Regions from separate parts of the Homo sapiens genome. Here region 2 is linked to region 1. The links are contacts of gene promoters, found by promoter capture Hi-C in blood cells and fetal thymus (Javierre and others, 2016). All regions are on one chromosome and are shown on one strand. Each heading gives the region's core, a stretch centred on a gene start or on the middle of the fragment in contact. The rest is flanking DNA. Distances are from core to core; before and after follow the strand shown.

What was found. Contacts are between HindIII fragments. The CHiCAGO score rates a contact against its expected background, and 5 or more counts as called.
Region 2: a fragment that was not itself captured here is called in contact with the fragment with the promoter of SLAMF6 in region 1 in 2 of 17 cell types (activated CD4 T cells and non-activated CD4 T cells); the score reaches 5.4 in activated CD4 T cells.

What each region holds. Positions count from the first base shown.
Region 1 is chr1:160,521,472-160,525,357 of GRCh38, forward strand. SLAMF6 (SLAM family member 6) reads right to left here and starts at 1,784. Exons shown (of 8, transcript NM_001184714.2): 1 at 1,673-1,784. The coding sequence starts at 1,721. RefSeq lists an enhancer at 1,569-1,618. The HindIII fragment of the contact is 3,138 bases long and covers 1,413-3,886 here.
Region 2 is chr1:161,013,145-161,016,814 of GRCh38, forward strand. All of the region lies in intron 1 of F11R (F11 receptor), which reads right to left. Among named protein-coding and RNA genes, the nearest start is that of F11R, 6.2 kb to the right of the region's middle. RefSeq lists enhancers at 340-489, 900-1,119, 2,761-3,358. The HindIII fragment of the contact is 7,117 bases long and covers 1-3,670 here.

The sequences.
Region 1 (3,886 bases), core at 534-3,033:
ATAATTTTGCAGGGTGGTAAAAATGAAGCAAAAACTCAAGATTCTGCTCCTAGATCAGGAAGTGGCTCTTGAATGAAGGAAAGAATTCTCTCTCTTTCTGCATTTTATATATATTTCCCAAAGTTCTGTTCTCATTCCAGTTTTCTCCTCAGCTTAACATATCTCTATGCCATTGATTTTTAAGTCTCTAGCCTCAGCTCTACCCCTAGTCCTAAGTTCCCAGGATCCTCCACGTAACTTCCTCATGTATAGCACACTGACATCCTAAAATCAGTAGGTCCAAAATTGAACTCACCTTCCTCCTGTGGCTGCTCTCCACCTTCCAATTTTGTCACTTTCTTTGGCTATCCTGTCTGAAATTTCACTGCCGTCTTTACCATATTTCATCTCTCCCTTTCCTTCTTGATTTATTTCTTCCTACCCAATACACTATTTTACTTGTTTATCTTTTTTTACAGTTTGTCTCCTGCTAAAATGTTAACTCCATGAGGGCAGGAATTTTTGCTTGCTTTGTTCATGATGTATTCATGCAAACTAGAAGAGTGCCAAGCATTCAGTAGGTGCTCAATGAATATTTATTCCTTTCTCATTCCAATTACCAATTACTCTACTTAACTCCATATTGATGGGATCTCTTGCTTCAGTCTCTTCTTTCTCTTATGCTGCTGCCACACTTGTTGAACTGTTATTTTTTCTCATAACTATTACAAGAGCTTGTCGCATGCTGGCTAATGAAATTTGGGCAAATTATTTAAATTAAGTTCACCTCAGTTCTTCATTTTAAAATGGAGATATTAATAGTATAAATTCATAGAATTCTCATGAGACTCATAACGTGTGTACAGCACCTGGCACAATACTTGAAATACAATAAGTGCTCAGTGAATGCTTCCTACTTTTATCTGCTACCCTGGGCTAGCTCTGGACTAGATTTCCATTGGTCTCCTGGACTATCTCTGCCTGAATGCTACACTTTGTCTCCCGTGGACCACTTGTAGTTCCCCAAATGTGATATGAATCTTCATCTTCTCCATATAATGGACAGCAGGAAACAAGAAGCCAGCTGGATCAGTTCATTCTTTTCTCACTGCCATATATAATGCATTGCTGGACTAGCTAGCCCTAATTTGCACTAAAGGAGGGGAGAGATGGAAACCTTTTTTTTTGCAATGAGCAAAAGGTGAGAGGGTTATTTTTGGTGTGTTTGGTTGGGCCCAGAAAATTTGGCTCAACTGAATAATAGGTTTTTAATAATTTAGATGAGGATAGTGAGGTTCAGGAAGGATAAGTAACCTCCCTGAGGTTCACAGTACGATAGTAGATACATTGGTATGAGGGCCCATTTTCTTGGTCTTGGTACTCTTTATAACACAAGATGCTGGTCATAAACCACAAACAGTCTTGTCTTCAAAAGCTTATTTCCTCTGCCCCAGCAAATAACTTTCTTACATGCAGACACAATTGAAATTGTTCACCGACAACCATCTCAGGCTTATCGCATCCAAAGTTGAGAGGAGGTAGTAGTATATCAGGTAACACTGCCAGCGTCCCCTTTCCCGCCCCAATCCCTTGGCAGAGAGCCAGACAACTGTATACAGACGATTTAGGTTGAGCAAGCTGCACAAAACCAGGGAGTCACTCAGTGACTACACCGATCTGGATTGACATTTACCTGGGCCAAAGCAGAAGACAAACAGGAGCGATTGGAACAGCCACAACATGCTTTCCGCGGTGAAGACTGGTGCTTGAGACCTTGAGGCAGTCAATGTTTTTGCCCTTCTGTCATAAACTGAAAATACTTCTGAGACTTCCCCTTCCTCTTAGAGGCGTGGTGACAACTTCTTCCCCTGCACTAAAAATCCTAATTTGTAACTGTGTTAATTTTTTGTTTACTTTTTTCTGAGCTAAGTGCACAAATTTTTTTTTTTTTTGGAAAAGAAGATAAAGTCCTTTATTGCATCTTTCATAAACTTATATGTAAAAGTCTGTAAGGAATTTCCTAAAATCTACTAGAACAAATAAATGAGTTCAGCAAGGTGAAAAGATACAAAATCAAAATATAAAATTCAATTGCAATTGTATATACTAGCTATGAGTAATCCAAAAATAAAATTCAAAAAACAATTCCACTCTAATTACATTAGAAAAAAATATTTAAGTATAAAGCTAAGAAAAAGCCAAAAGAAAACTGATTTTTTAAAATTATACTTTAAGTTCTAGGGTACATGTGCACAATGTGCAGGTTTGTTACATATGTATACATATGCCATGTTGGTGTGCTGCACCTATTAACTTGTCATCTACATTAGATATTTCTCCTAATGCTATCCCTCCCCTTGCCCCCCACCCCGTGACATACCCCAGTGTATGATGTTCCCCTACCTGTGTCCATGTGTTCTCATTGTTCAGTTCCCACCTATGAGTGAGAACATGCGTTGTTTGGCTTTCTGTTCTTGTGTTAGTTTGCTGAGAATGATGGTTTCCAGCTTCATCCATGTCCCTGCAAAGGACATGAACTCATCCTTTTTTATGGCTGCATGGTATTCCATGGTATATATATGCCACATTTTCTTTATCCAGTGTATCATTGATGGGCATTTGGGTTGGTTCCAAGTCTTTGCTATTGTGAACAGTGCTGCAATAAACATAAGTGTGCATGTGTCTTTATAGCAGCATGATTTATAATCCTTTGGGTATATAACCAGTAATGGGATTGCTGGGTCAAATGGTATTTCTAGTTCTAGATCCTTGAGGAATCGCCACACTGTATTCCACAATGGTTGAACTAGTTTACACTCCCACCAACAGTGTGAAAACATTCCCATTTCTCTACATCCTCTCCAGCATCTGTTGTTTCCTGATTTTTTAATGATTGCCATTCTAACTGGCATGAGATGGTATCTCATTGTAGTTTTGATTTGCATTTCTCTAATGACCAGTGATGATGAGCTTTTTTCATATGTTTCTTGGCCGCATAAATGTCTTCTTTTGAGAAGTGTCTTCATATCCTTTGCCCACTTTTTGTTGGGGTTTTTTTTTTTTTCTTGTAAATTTGTTTGAGTTCTTTGTAGATTCTGGATATTAGCCTTTTGTCAAATGGATAGACTGCAAAAATTTTCTCCCATTCTGTAGGTTCCCTGTTCACTCTGATGATAGTTTCTTTTGCTGTGCAGAAGCTCTTTAGTTTAATTAGGTCCCATTTGTCAATTTTGGCTTTTGTTGCCATTGATTTTGATGTTTTAGTATTGAAGTCTTTGCCCATGCCTTTGTCCTGAATGGTATTGCCTAGGTTTTCTTCTGGGGTTTTTGTGGTTTTAGGTCTAACATTTAAGTCTTTAATCCATCTTGAGTTAATTTTTGTGTAAGGTATAAGGAAGGGAACCAGTTTCAGTTTTCTGCATAATTGCTAGCCAGTTTTCCCAACACCATTTATTAAATAGGGAATCCTTTCCCCATTGCTTGTTTTTGTTAGGTTTGTCAAAGATCAGATGGTTGTAGATGTGTGATGTTATTTCTGAGGCCTCTGTTCTGCTCCATTGGTCTATATATCTGTTTTGGTACCAGTACCATGCTGTTTTGGTTACTGCAGCCTTGTAGTATAGTTTGAAGTCAGTTAGCGTGCTGCCTCCAGCTTTGTTCTTTTGGCTTACAATTGTCTTGGCTATATGGGCTCGTTTTTGGTTCTGTATGAAATTTAAAGTAGTTTTTTCTAATTCTGTGAAGAAAGTCAATAGTAGTTTGATGGAAATAGCATTGAACCTATAAATTACTTTGGGCAATATGGCCATTTTCATGATATTGATTCTTCCTATCTATGAGCATGGAATGGTTTTCCATTTGTTTGTGTACTTTCTTATTTCCTTGAGCAGTGGTTTGTAGTTCTCCT
Region 2 (3,670 bases), core at 1,093-3,592, 490 kb after region 1:
AAAGAAGAAAGAGGAGGAGGGGGAAAAGGAGGGAAAACAGTCAACCAGTCTCTCTCTGGTTTTCTCTAAGAATTCATCCAAACTTCCCTCTGGGCATATGAGACTCACAAGACCCCCCAGTTGCCAGGGAGCTGGAGCCCTGCAATAGGAAGGATGAGTCAGGGCCTCCTCACCCCACCAGCTACAGCATACCCAGTTTAACTTCATGTTTTCCCCCTAATCTCTAGCACAGTGCTCAGAACATAGTAAACACCAATGTTTGTTGGATTAACAAGTGAATTTCACACTGCAATACAATTAGAACCTGGACCTAGAGCTTCCACTCTGGTTTTCCCCTTCCTCCCCACCACTCACCCTGTAGAGATTGAAGTAACTCCCATAAGGGTTGGCCTCCTCGTAAAGATCAAGAGGCTCCATGGGCCAGGGAAGTTCCACAGGGAAGGGCCTTTCCGGGGTTTGGGGTAGAACAGTTTAGAAATGTGTGAGCAAGAGGAAGGCTCTGTGAGGCCAACAACAGGCTGGGCTATGTCTAAATAGCCATCCTTGGCTGCACTTTCAGTGATGTCGATCAGCTGGCTCGGGTCCTCTGAGGATGGCAGAAAGTGGTAATGGCAGGGTAAGACAGGCTCGCTTTCACTCCCTGGCTCCCTCCCGCCCTCTCTGCAGAATTTCCGGTTCTACCTGCTCAGCTCCCCCGCCACCCCATCTTCCCAGTGCAAGGGAAGGTCGAGCCTTCCAGCGCAGGACTTACTTCAGGGGCCCAGCACCCACTTCCTGCCAGCCAGCTGCTTCCTCCTGTTCCGCCCCTACATTGTGAAACAAATGACGCAGCCGGACTTTAGACAGAAACCCTGCTTATCAGGGAGTCCAGGCAGATGAACTCTGGGTTCTCAATGCCAGGAAAACCCTAGTGTGTATCCACTCTCACAGTATGTGTTCACTCATACTGCTTTCCACAACCGTCACACAATAGTGAAACCTCATCCTCAATTATGTTGGACGCAAGGTCATCCAGGTCTTTCCTGAATCTCTGAAACAGAAACTGGTTTGAGTTTAGAGATCTCCAGGGTCTCTAGTCAAACCTAACAGATGTGATAAACAAGTCTCATTATTATCACATAAAATGTGCATGGCATTTAAATCTATTTTTGGGTGTGGTGGAAACGTGTGTTGCCCATTTATGTGTCCACAGAACAAGTGCAAATTGAACTCAGCTGACTTGGAGGGGGGTGGGATGTATCCTAACAGCCAAGGCCACAATCCCTAGAAACCAATATGGGCCAGGTGTAGTGACTCATACCTGTCATTCAGCATTTTGAAAGGCCAAGGCAAAAGGATCCCTTAAAGCCAAGAATTCAAGACCAGCCTGTACAACAGATGAGACCCTGTCTGTACTAAAAAAATAAAAAATTAGCCAGGTATGGCTCACCACTCACACTTGCCTATAGCCTCAGCTATTCAGGAGGCTAAGACTGGAGGATTGCTTGAACCCAGGAGGTCAAGGCTGCAGTGAGGCCAGGCACGGTGGCTCATGCCTGTAATCCCAGCACTTTGGGAGGCCAAGGCAGGCGGATCACTTGAAGTCAGGAATTCAAGACCAGCTTGGCCAACATGGTGAAACCCTATCTCTACTAAAAATACAAAAATTAGCCGGGCAGCTCACACCTGTAATCCCAGCACTTTGGGAGGCCAATGGGGGCAGATCACAAGGCCAGGAGATCAAGACCATCCTGGCTAACATGGTGAAATCCCATCTCTACTAAAAATACAAAAAAAAAAAAAAATTAGCAGGGAATGGTGGCGGGTGCCTGTAGTCCCAGCTACTTGGGAGGCTGAGGCAGGAGAATGGCGTGAACCCGGGAGGCAGAGCTTGCAGTGAGCCGAGATCACGCCACTGCACTCCAGCCTGGGTAACAGAGCAAGACTCCATCTCAAAAAAAAAAAATTAAATTAAAAAAATATGTACAAAAGGCTGGGCACAGTGGCTCATGCCTGTAATCCCAGCATTTTGGGAGGCCGAGGCAGGCAGATCACGAGGTCAGCAGATCGAGACCATCCTGGCTAACACGGTGAAACCCCGTCTCTACTAAAAAAAATACAAAAAATCAGCCGGAGTGGTGGCGGGCCCCTGTAGTCCCAGCTACTCGGGAGGCTGAGGCAGGAGAATGGCGTGAACCCGCGAGGCGGAGCTTGCAGTGAGCCGAGATTGCTCCAGTGCACTCCAGCCTGGGTGACAGAGCCAGACTCCATCTCAAAAAAAAAAATATATATATATATATATATACACACACACAAAAATTAGCCAAGAATGGTGGTGCACGCTTGTGTCCCAGCTACTCGGGAGGCTGAGGCAGGAGAATCACTTGAACCTGGGAGGCAGAGTCTGCAGTGAGACAAGATCACGCCACTGGACTCCTCCCTGGGCAACACAGCAAGACTTTGTCTCAAAAAAAAAAAAAAAGGCTGCAGTGAGCTATGATCATGCCATTGTACTCCAGCCTGGGCAACAGAGTGAGACCCTGTTTCAAAAACAACAACAACAACAACAAAACTCCATGATATATATATATAAGCAAGATGTAGAATATATGTAGTATGCCTCTTTTTGTGTCAGAAAGGGGAGAAAAAACAAGTATTATTTATATATACTTGTATCTGTAAAATGAAACACTGAAGAGACATTAGAAACTATTGGGGTTTGGGGTGAACAGGAGCAACATGGGAATGAGATACCCCACCCCTTTGATATCATTTTAATTATAAAACCATGTCAATTAACCTATTCTAATTAAATTTTTTTAAAAAAAATCACAGTAGCTCTATCTTGAATCGGAACTGGGCTGGAGACTCCACAAGACATGATCACAAAGGAACTGAAGAGCAACATGGTGAGGTAAAAGTGGTCTGGAGTGGCCAGGTGCAGGGGTTCACGCCTGTAATCCCAGCACTTTGGAAAGCCTAGGCAAGAGGATTACTTGAAGTCAGGAGTTCGAGACCAGCCTGGCCAACATGGTGAAAACCCGTCTCTACTAAAAATACAAAAAATTAGGGGCCGGGCGCGGTGGCTCACGCCTGTAATCCCAGCACTTTTGGAGGCCGTGGCGGGCAGATCATGAGGTCAGGAGATCAAGACCATCCTGGCTAACACAGTGAAACCTCGTCTCAACTAAAAATAGAAAAAATTAGCCAGGCATGGTGGCGGGCGCCTGTAGTCCCAGCTACTCAGGAGGCTGAGGCAGGAGAATGGCATGAACCCGGGAGGTGGAGTTTGCAGTGAGCCGAGATCGTGCCACTGTACTCCAGCCTGGCGACAGAGAGAGACTCTGTCTCAAAAACAAATAAATAAATAAATAATACAAAAAATTAGCCGGGCGTGGTGGCGCGTGCCTGTAGTCCCAGCTGCTGGGGAGGCTAAGGCAGGAGAATCGCTTGAAGCCGGGAGGTGGAGGTTGCAGTGAGCCAAGATCATGCTACTGCATTCCAGCCTGGGTAACAGAATGAGACTCCGTCTCAAAAAAAAAAAAAGTGATCTGGAGCCAGAAGGCAAAGACTAAAGGACACTGAAATTCCACTGCCACTCGTTTCCTAGTTCCAGGTAGAACTAGGAAGTGCCAGTCACCAGTTTCTAGTTTGGAGGGAACAATTCACTCCTGGGAGTAGAGGGAGAGGA